Linked DNA regions of Homo sapiens: region 2 is linked to region 1. Evidence: promoter capture Hi-C in 16 types of primary human blood cells and fetal thymus (Javierre and others, 2016). All regions are on one chromosome and are shown on one strand. Each heading gives the region's core, a stretch centred on a gene start or on the middle of the fragment in contact. The rest is flanking DNA. Distances are from core to core; before and after follow the strand shown. Region 1 holds the start of ITGAX (integrin subunit alpha X). Region 2 holds the start of KAT8 (lysine acetyltransferase 8).

Region 1 (5,121 bases), core at 13-2,512:
TATAACCCACTTTCTAAAATGAAAATGTGAAGATCTCAGTCCCCATGAATTCCCTTCAATGCTGTCCTCCACTCTCAGGACAAAATCAATGTGTCTTCACCAGGTGTGGTGGCTCACACCTGTGATCCCAGCAATTTAGGAGGCTGAGGCAGGAGGATTGATTGAGATCAGGAGTTTGAGACCAGCCTGGCCAACATGGGGAAACTCTGTCTCTACTAAAATTAAAAAATATATATATATAAATATATATATATATTCAGGTGCAGTGGTGCAATCCTATAGTCCTGGCTACTCAGGAGGCTGAGGCAGGAGGATCCCTTGGGCCCAGGAGTTCGAAGCAGCAGTGAACTATGCACCCACTGCACTCCAGCCTGGGTGGCAGAGCAAGACCCTGTTTCTGAAATTAAAAAAAAAAATTGATGTACATTAGGGGGGCTTCCACGGCCTGAGGCCTGCTTCCCCTTGCTTTCCTCCCAGTGGCCCTGACCTTGTCTCTTACAACTTCCCACCCTGACTGTCTGGTTCCCATTGCTGATTTCACACACAGACCCTCCTGTCCCCTGCCTCATCCATGTCTGGCTGCTCTGTCATCTCCCAACTTTGGTTGCTTTCAATGCTCAGCTCAAGCACCACCTCTTTCAGGAAGCCTTCTCAGAAAGCCACACCTTCACAACCCGGGTGAGGCACCCTGTGGTCTCTGTGCTTCCCCCTCACAGCAATGAACTTGCTGTTTATACATCTGCCTCTCCACTGACCCCAGGGCTGGTGCTTTGTGGTTTATATTTTCTTCCCCACCTAGCAGAGGGCTTGCATCTCCAGGCTCAAATTAGGCTTCTTGAATAAATGATGAATAAATGAGTGAATGAATGAATGAACAAATACTCGCTCTGTGCTCCTCCTAGGGACCCGGATGCCCCACTCCTTGGCCCAGACTTTCCAGGTCAGAGTGGAGGGCTCCCACCAGGGTTTCCTTTAGGGTCCTGAGGGGTTGGCATCTGCCCAAACCCCCTCCAGTCTGGCTGAAATTTCAAGGTCAAGGGGTGCCTTCTGGCAGTCAAGGGTGAGCCTGGGAGGGGCAGGGCAGGGATTTGCATCCATCTAAGCAAAGGGCATCAAGCCAAGTCATCTGATGAGAGTGACTCCGGTTGGGGGGTGGGGGCGTGTGGGAGGCCGAGCCTGTCCTCGGATCAGTTGCGTACTCTGCCCGCCCCCTCTGACTCATGCTGACAATCTTCTTCCTTCCCCTGGCCACCTCTCTGCCCACTTGCTTCCTCAGTACCTTGGTCCAGCTCTTCCTGCAACGGCCCAGGAGCTCAGAGCTCCACATCTGACCTTCTAGTCATGACCAGGACCAGGGCAGCACTCCTCCTGTTCACAGGTGAGCCTGGACCCCAATGAAGTAGGGCTGGGGACCCAGGCCCAAGGGAGCCAGGGCCCTGAACTGGGGGCTCAGGCTGGGGGGTTAGGATCTGGGTAGGAAGAGAGACTCAGTCAAGCCTGAGGGGGAGGCAGGCACATAGGGTCTGAGATTTGGAGTTTGTGGAGGGAGAGGATATTGATGAACCAATTTTGGGAGAGTTCCAGAGATGCTGGAAGAGAGGCCAGTTGTCTCTGTACTGCAGAGATTTTTAAAATAGGCAGAATGCGCCAACTTGTGCTCTGTGGACAGGATGCTTTGGTCCGCAAGTTTTCCTGGACTCACTCTCATAGCGCCCGAGGTGCACGTTGGGGAAAGATCCTTTTTAGAGCCTGGGTACTGCTCTGCAGAAATGGAGAACTGCAACTCGATAGTGGATGGTGGGCAAGGGGCATCCCTGGACCCTGGGAAGGAGAGAAGGGGATGAGTTGGGTGTCCAGAAGACCCAGGCACCCCGGGCATCAGGCTCGGAGGGGAGATTGGGACGCTGGGGCCGGGGGTGGAGGGCAGCCAGGCAGAAGGAAGACCCTTCTCCAAAGCTCTCTTCCCACCTCTTTCCCAGCCTTAGCAACTTCTCTAGGTTTCAACTTGGACACAGAGGAGCTGACAGCCTTCCGTGTGGACAGCGCTGGGTTTGGAGACAGCGTGGTCCAGTATGCCAACTCCTGGTGAGGCCCAGGTGGTGCTGGCCTTTGGCTCCATCCATCCTCTCCCTGCTCAGGGCCCCATGCCCCCGGCCCTGCCCTGTTATTTGCAAACTCTCCTCTCTGTCTGGTGTAGCGACTGCCCTGGCTAATGAAGATTTGCCTTGAAGGCAGGCACGGTCTCACAGCTAACATTTACAGAGCAGTAAGTGCAGTGCCAGGCTCATCACAGGTGGATGCTGATTTAGTCCACACGACAGCCTGTGAGTAGGAATCAGTCGTGCAACAAACACTTATTTGTTTTTTCTTTCTTTTTTTCTATACATTTAAAAATATATAGAGACAGGGTCTCACTATGTTGCCTGGGTTGGTCTCAAACTCCTGGGCTCAAGCAATCCTCCCGCCTCAGCCTCCCAAAGTGCTGGGATTCCAGGTGTGAGCCACCACACCCAGACTCAACAAATATTTCTTGTCTCCATACGCCAGAGAATCCAACAGACAGAAATCCCTTCCACATGGACTTTAAATTATTAAAATCCATCTTGCAGATGAGGAAGCTGAGGCTCAGGGAGGGAACGCAAACTTGCCGGAGTGGCAGCTGTGCTGCAGCGTCCACACTCTTACCTAAAGTGTTCTTTGTCTCCTCGCAGGGTGGTGGTTGGAGCCCCCCAAAAGATAACAGCTGCCAACCAAACGGGTGGCCTCTACCAGTGTGGCTACAGCACTGGTGCCTGTGAGCCCATCGGCCTGCAGGGTGAGTCACCGCCCCTCCCGGGACCCAGGGCCGGGCTCCCAGGCTTCCCTGCTCCAGGGGCCCGTGGACTCACCGGAGTGTCACTTTCAGCTTCCACTGTGTCTGAGACCCTCACCCTCAGATATGCTTCCTGGCCCCTTAAGGCCTCCCCGCCCATCGCACTCCCGCAGCTCTGTCAAGACCCGACAGCTTCCTTCACCGTCAGACCTCCTTGTCTCCCAGGTGGAGGTGACCCCTGCCCAGCTCTTCCACAGCCTTCTCTGTACCCCCGAGAGTGACCATGCACATATCTGTCCCCACAGTGCCCCCGGAGGCCGTGAACATGTCCCTGGGCCTGTCCCTGGCGTCTACCACCAGCCCTTCCCAGCTGCTGGTGAGTGGCCCTGGGTCACAGGAGGCTTCTGAGGGAGGGAGGGAGGAGCCGGGGCCGCGGGGGGCTGGGAGTCTCCTGTAGGGTGGAGGTTCCGGAATGTGAGGGTGGGAGGAAGCAGGGGCAGCCCCCCAGCAGCCCGCTGTGTCCCCAGGCCTGCGGCCCCACCGTGCACCACGAGTGCGGGAGGAACATGTACCTCACCGGACTCTGCTTCCTCCTGGGCCCCACCCAGCTCACCCAGAGGCTCCCGGTGTCCAGGCAGGGTGAGTGTCGGGACCACCAAGGCTTTGAGGAGCTCACGCACATCCAATTGGGGGTGCGGTGGGCTAGAGACAGTCTTGCCAGAGTGGATCAGAAAGAAGGGATCTGGAAAAAGAGTTACCACGTGTTGCAGTGGTTCCTGACGCTGCTGCCCGCACATCCTGCCGATCGCCCGCACGCTGCCGGACCTTTCCTGTGACCTTAACCTCTCCAAGCCTCAGTTTCTTCATCTGTTGGATGGGGATAATAACACACCCAGCACTGAAAGCAACACAGGATGATTCATGGCCAGGGGTTAGCACAGCAGCTAGCACCAGGCGACAGCCCCATGAAGGCCAGCTGTTGTTATTTTTAGAGGAGAGGATCTATTTTCATCCAATGGGTCCTGGGATATGACCAATTGGTTTGTGCCGTAGTTTAGGAAAGGTCAGTGAAAGTGCAGTGTGAGCAACGTGTGTGTGTGTACATGTGTGTATATGTATGCATGTGTATACATGTGCACATGCACACATGTACATGCATGTGTGTGCATGTATGTGTGTGTGCGTGTGCACATGCAGGTTGAGACGCAGGGCCTGACTTCCCTGGTGCTGATGGGGAAGAAAGATAAGGAAGCAAAACAGTGGGCTTTGGCAGGCTGAGGCCTCCCCCTGGTTTCACATTTGCTCTCAAGCCTTTGGTGAGACTGACATCTGGCTGCAAATAGGGTGTGCCTTCCAGCACCTCCGTGGGTCCAGACTCCATCCACAGGGGCCTGGGCACCCATCAGAATGCCCAGGACACCTGTCTCTCCGGTGGAGGCCTCTGGGGCAGAGGGGATGCTTGAGAGGTCACATGGAAGGGGGTTTCCTCTCCAGGTGCTGGAAGATCGTCTCTTCTCAGGACAGATGCTAACTTCACACAGGAGGGGAGTGGGGGCCTGTATTTAAGCTGAGAACAGAACAGGCCCAGTGTGTGGCTGTTGCCTGGGATGATTTGTTTAAAATATTAACAATCAAGGCAAGAGGGTTGTTTGAGGCCTGGAGTTTGAGACCAGCCTGGGCAACATAGTGAGACCTCATCTCTACAAAAAATAAATATAAAATACAAAGTAGCTTGGCATGCTGTTACATACCTCTAGTCCTAACTACTGGGGAGGCTGAGGCAGGAGAATCGCTTGAGCCCAGGAGTTGGAGGCTGTAGGGAGCTTTGATCACACCACTGCACTCCAGCCTGGGTGACAGAGTGAGACTCCATCTCAATTAAAAAAAGAAATTTAACAAAACTACCATTCAGCACTGAGCAGTGAGGACAAACACTGGCTAGGGACTGGTGCCAGTTTGTGTCATTGCTGGATGGGGTGACATTGAGGGAGGAAGGAGGGGTGGGTCCAGGGAGGGGCACAGATATCCAGGGTGGTGGAGGGGTAGGCCCTCTGCTTCCTACCGTCTGAATTGGAGAAATCTTCCTGGTTTTTTTTTTTTTCTTTTTTTTTAGAGATAGTCTTACTCTGTCACTGAGGCTGGAGTGCAGTGGTACAATCACAGCTCACTGCAGCCTCCAACTCCTGGGCTCAAGTGATCCTCCCACCTCAGCCTCCAGAGTAGCTGGGACCACAGAGAAGAGCTACCATGCCCAGCTGATTTTTAACAATTTTTAGTAGATGTGAGGTCTAACTATGCTGTCCAGGCTG
Region 2 (5,748 bases), core at 2,929-5,428, 240 kb before region 1:
TTTATTTATTTAGAAATGGGGTCTTGCTCTGTTGCCCAGGCTGGAATATGGTGGCTGCAGAGTTCACTGCAGCCTTGAACTCCTGGGATCAAGAGATTCTCCCACCTCAGCCTTCTGAGTAGCTTGGACCATCATGCCAGGCTAAATTTTAAAATTTTTTGTAGAAACAGGGTTTCTACAAAGCCCTATGTTGCCCCGGGCTGGACTTGAACTTCTGGGCTCAAATGATCCTTCCACCCCAGCCTCCCAAAGTGGTGGGGTTACAGGCATGAGCCACTGCAGCTGGCCCATGAGTGGGTTTTGAGCTGGGAAGGGATGTTTCTGGTTGGAGTCCCTGAGAGGATTCATGTCCACGTGATTTCTTAAGAAAGTGCTCCCAGAACAGAGTAGGGGAAGTAGGAAGGGGAAGGGGAGGAAGCCAAGCAAGGATGTGACCTCAGGCAAAAGCCCAGAACCAGTCAATTATGCCTCAGGGTTGAAGGTAAGAGAGCTAAACCTCAGAGTTACTGATTAATTTCTCCACTTGGCAGTCACTGGTTAAAGTCAGTTGGGAAAGTGAACAGCTCTATTAACCTAAGGATGGTTTTTTAAGAAGAGCCTCAGGTGCTGGTGTGGGTCTTTGAAAGCACATCAAAGGTAATCTGGGCACACAGAAACAGCAAGAACTCCCAGAGGATCTGGGTGGAGCACCTACATTGTTTTTTTGTTTGTTTTGTTTCGTTTTGTTTTTTTAAACGGAGTCTCAATCTGTTGCTCAGGCTGGAGTGCAGTGGCTGGATCTTCGCTCACTGCAACCTCCGCCCCACCCCCCCCCAACCCCAGGTTCAAGCGATTCTCCTGCCTCAGCCTCCCGAGTAGCTGGGATTACAGGCGCGTGCCACCACACCCAGCTAATTTTTCTATTTTTAGTAGAGATGGGGTTTCACCACGTTGGCCAGGCTGGTCTCGAACTCCCAACCTCGTGATCCATCCACCTCAGCCTCCCAAAGTGCCAGGATTACAGGCATGAGCCACCATGCCTGTCGGATGTTTCTTGATTTGTAACCTCTGAGAGACCCATCCGCAGGCCCTGAGCATTCCACTCCTCTCAGAATTGTTTCCAAGCCCAATAACCACATTATAAATCAAACAAGATTCAGAGAATAGCCAAAGGGAATGTTTACTGAGTACCTACCCGGTCTGGCACTTTGCAATACACTTGTATATTGCTAAGACGGATAGTTCAACCGTTACATAGTTATATGATTGATAGTTATACATGCTTAACTGCTGGGGATTGGTTCCAGGACCGCCTGTGAATACCGAAATCTGCAGGCGCTCAAGTCCTACAGTTGGCCCTGCCAAACAGCAGATATGAAGTCAGCTCTTCAGATCTGTGGGTTCTGCATCCTTACAATATTTCCTTTCCTTTCCTTTTCTTTTCCTCCCTTCCTCCCTCTTTTTTCTTTTTCTTTTTTGAGATGGAGTCTTGTTGTGTCGGCCAGGTTGGAGTGCAGTGGCGCGATCTCGGCTCACTGCAACCTCCACCTCCTGGGTTCAAGCAGTTCTCCTGCCTCAGCCTCCCAAGTAGCTGGGATTACAGGCACACGCCACCACCCCTGACTGTTTTGTATTTTCAGTAGAGACGGGGTTTCACAATGTGGGCCAAGCTGGTTTTGAACTCCTGACCTCAAGTAATCCACCTGCTTCGGCCTCCCAAAGTGCTGGGATTACAGGTGTGAGCCACCGCGCCCAGTCTTTTTTTTTTTTTTTTTGAGGCAGAGTTTCACTCTTGTTGCCCAGGCTGGAGTGCAATGGCACAATCTCAGCTCACCACAACCTCTGCCTCCCAGGTTCAAGCGGTTCTCCTGCCTCAGCCTCCCGAGTAGCTGGGATTACAGGCATGCGGCCACCACGCCTGGCTAATTTTGTATTTTTAGTAGAGATGGGGTTTCTCCATGTTGGTCAGGCTGGTCTCGAACTCCCGACCTCAGGTGATCTGCCTGCCTCGGCCTCCCAAAGTGGTGGGATTACAGGAGTGAGCCACTGCGCCCAGCCTCCTTTTCTTTCCCCCCTTTTTTTTTGAGACAGGGTCTCTGTCACCCAAGCTGGAGTGCAGTGGAGGGATTATAGCTCACTCAGCCTCGACCTCCTGGGTTTAAGCGATCCCTCTGCCTCAGCCTCCTGAGTAGGTGGGACTACAGGTGCGGGCCCCGAGGCCCAGCTAATTTTTTTTTTCCCCCAAATTTTTAGTAGAAAGGAGGTCTCTATGCTGCCCAGGCTGGTCTTGAACTCCTGGCCTGAAGCGATCCTCCTGCTTGGATTCCTGAAGTGCGAGATTACAGGTGTGAGCCACCATACCTCAACACTGTATTTTCAACCCGCTCTTCGTTCAATCTCCAAAGGTGGGACATGCGGATATGGAGGGCCGATTGTGTATGGTTGGACCATACACATATAAATGGCTTTAACCTTTACTGACTCTCACAGAACCCTCAGTGCAGTGGCGTGATCTCAGCTCACTGCAAGCTCCACCTCCCGGGTTCACACCATTCTCCTGCCTCAGCCTCCCGAGTAGCTGGGACTACAGGGGCCCGCCACCACGCCCGGCTAATTGTTTTGTATTTTTTTTTAGTAGAGACGGAGTTTCATCGTGTTAGCCAGAATAGTCTCGATCTTCTGACCTCGTGATCCACCCGCCTAGGCCTCCCAAAGTGCTGGGATTACAGGCGTGAACCACCGCACCCGGCCTTTTTATTTTTTTTGAGATGGAGTCTGGCTCTTGGTCCCCAGGCTGGAGTGCAATGGCGGGATCTCGGCTCACTGCAACCTCCGCCTCCCGGGTTCAAGCGATTCTCCTGCCTCAGCCTCCCGAGTAGCTGGGACTACAGGTGCGTGCCACCACGCCCGGCTAAATTTTGTATTTTTAGTAGAGACGGAGTTTCACGGTGTTAGCCAGGATGGTCTCGATCTCCGCCCGCCTCGGCCTCTCAAAGTGCTGAGATTACAGGCGTGAGCCACCACGCCCCGCCCAACTCGTCCTTTCTTTAGACTTTATCCTGTGAGGGTGAATTATGGCCTGTCCCTGGACACACCCGTTCTGCTTTCCCCGCACCAACTGTATCCCAAATAGGGGAAGTAGTCTCTTCAACCTTCAAAAATGGGGCACTGGCTGGGCACGGTGGCTCACGCCTGTAACCCTAGCACTTTGGGAGGCCGAGGCGGGCGGATCACCTGAGGTCAGGAGTTCGAGACCAGCCTGGCCAACAGGGTGAAGCCCTCTCTCTACTAAAAATACAAAAAATAGCCGGGCGTGGTGGCGCGCGATTGTAATCCCAGCTATTCAGGAGGCTGAGGCAGGAGAATCGCTTGAACCCGGGAGGCGGAGGCTGCAGTGAGCCGAGATCGCGTCACTGCACTCCAGCCTGGGCGACAGAGCGAGACTCCATCTCAAAAAAAAAAAAGGGGGGGGGGCGGGGAGCGACATTAGGCCAGCGCGAGTGTGCGGCTCCAGGCCACCAGGGCGGCCGCTCTGGCTCTGCCCTGTTAAAGTGGGGGCAGCGCCCGCTGAAAATTGGCACATCTTGGCTTCCGCAGGTACCAGGGCCTTTAAAAAGGTTCAGCTGGCCGGGCACGGTGGCTCACGCCTATAATCCCAGCACTTTGGGAGGTTGAGGCTGGCAGATCACGAGGTCAAGAGATCAAGACTATCCTGGACAACATGGTGAAACCCCGTCTCTACTAAAAATACAAAAATTAGATGGGCGTGGTGGCGCGCGCCTGCAGTCCCAGCTACCCGGGAGGCTGAGGCAGAGGAATCGCTTGAACCCGGAGGCGGAGGTTGCAGTGAGCCGAGATCGCGCCTCTGCACTCCAGCCTGGGCGACAGAGCATGATTCCGTCTCAAAATAAATAAATAAATAAATAAATAAATAAATTAAAAAAAGGTTGAGTTGAGTCATCGCATGAGGTAAGTCTGTCTCCTCTCCTCACCCATAGGCTGCAGCCACAGGTCCGCACGGAAAACCAGGAGCTCCAAGACTGCCGCACACTCAACATCCAACTCGCGGGGCCGCGGGGACGGCCACAGAAGCCAATCGGCTCCTGCTACATCACAGACCCCGCCCTCAAACCTTGAGGAGCCCGCCCCACGCACTGCTGACCCGGAGCCAAAAGAACTGCGTGGCGTCCGATTCTGGCGTCACTTCCCTTCCCGCGATGGCGGCACAGGGAGCTGCTGCGGCGGTTGCGGCGGGGACTTCAGGGGTCGCGGGGGAGGGCGAGCCCGGGCCCGGGGAGAATGCGGCCGCTGAGGGGACCGCCCCATCCCCGGGCCGCGTCTCTCCGCCGACCCCGGCGCGCGGCGAGCCGGAAGTCACGGTGGAGATCGGAGAAACGTACCTGTGCCGGCGACCGGATAGCACCTGGCGTGAGGGCGGGGCCCAGGGCTGGGGGCGGGGCGGAGCTCAGGGCCAGGGGGTGGGGCGGGGCCTGAGGACAGGCTGTCAGTGAGGCCAAGATCCGGGGGCTGGGAGTGGAGAGGAGGAGGGGCGGGGCTTGAGGAAAGAACGCCGCGTTCCGGGCGCTGAGAAACCAGCCGGGTTGTGGGAGGCTGTTGACCTTGAATTATGCCGAGCGACGCCTACAAACCCACCGCTCAGGCCTTCACCAGGATTGTTCCCATTCCACTTCCTTGCCCAGTCTTAGGCTTCATTCCTTTTTCTTGCTAACGCTGCTTCCTCACCCTCTCTTGTCTCTGCGTCTTCTTTTTCCATTTGTCCCTGGCAGCCATCCGCAGAGAGAAGACCTTCCAGAAACAACAGGCTTCCCTTTCCTAAAGTTCTGCTGCCTTCTCTCATTTTCAAAATTAACCCCAAACTCCTTAGGGTGGCATTCATTTTTGTGACCTCTCCAGTTTCTAGCCAACACTAGGAAAGGGCATTGCCAGGCCAGAACACACTGTGCCCTCTGAAGACCACACGCCCTTTACCACCTGTGCCCTTTGCTTGGAATGCTTTTTCTTCCCTTTCTCCTTGTTTGCCTGCCTAGCTCCTACTCATCCTCTTAGCTTCATATCCTTTGTGATGTCATCCTTGATTCCCCTTCAGGCAAAGTGAGTGGTTCCCTTCTCTATGTTCCTGCAACATTTTTTTCCTACCTCAGTCATAGTTTTTGTAACATTATGTTGTAATTTTCTCTCTCTGTCTTCCTCCATCATACTGGGAACTTCTGGAGGGCAGCACTTCTTGTGATTCATCACTGTGTCCTCTGTACCCGGCAACAACACAGCATAGGGCCAGACACGTAGTGGTTGCCTTACTCATTTATTGAATGCTCTGCTAATTGTCAGGTGCGCTGCTAAAAATTTTGGAGGCATTAATTCACCTTCTAAGGTTGGTACTATTATCCCTTTTGTCTTTTTTTTTTTTTTTTTTTTTGAGACAGGATCTCGCTCTGTCACCCAGGTGGGATTGCCGTGGCACGATGACAGCTCACTGAAGCCTAGACCTTCTAGGCTCAAGTGATCCTCCCACCTCACCCTCTCAGAGTGTTGGGATTACTGGCATGAGCCACTGTGCCCAGCTGTTATCCCTTTTCACAGATGAAGAGACTGAGGCTCAGAAAGATGGAATAACTTGCTCAGTTACACATAGCTAGGAAGTAGGGAGCTGGAATTTTGTGTATTTTTTTTTGTTTGTTTGTTTGAGATGGAATCGCTCTCTGTTGCCAGGCTGGAGTGCAGTGGCGCCATCTTGGCTCACTGCGATCT

Evidence for each region. The method cuts DNA at HindIII sites, captures the fragments that hold promoters and counts their contacts. A CHiCAGO score of 5 or more calls a contact.
Region 2: the fragment with the promoter of KAT8 here is called in contact with the fragment with the promoter of ITGAX in region 1 in 2 of 17 cell types (monocytes and neutrophils); the score reaches 9.3 in monocytes.

Annotation. Positions count from the first base shown.
Region 1 is chr16:31,353,914-31,359,034 of GRCh38, forward strand. ITGAX (integrin subunit alpha X) reads left to right here and starts at 1,263. Exons shown (of 30, transcript NM_000887.5): 1 at 1,263-1,378; 2 at 1,980-2,085; 3 at 2,712-2,815; 4 at 3,118-3,188; 5 at 3,340-3,451. The coding sequence starts at 1,342. RefSeq lists enhancers at 525-654, 845-1,034. The HindIII fragment of the contact is 18,983 bases long and covers 1-5,121 here.
Region 2 is chr16:31,113,486-31,119,233 of GRCh38, forward strand. It overlaps KAT8 (lysine acetyltransferase 8), which reads left to right and starts at 4,179. Exons shown (of 11, transcript NM_032188.3): 1 at 4,179-4,407. The coding sequence starts at 4,197. It also overlaps a transcript of BCKDK not described here. RefSeq lists silencers at 3,997-4,223, 4,123-4,472 and an enhancer at 4,643-4,762. The HindIII fragment of the contact is 10,033 bases long and covers 1-5,748 here.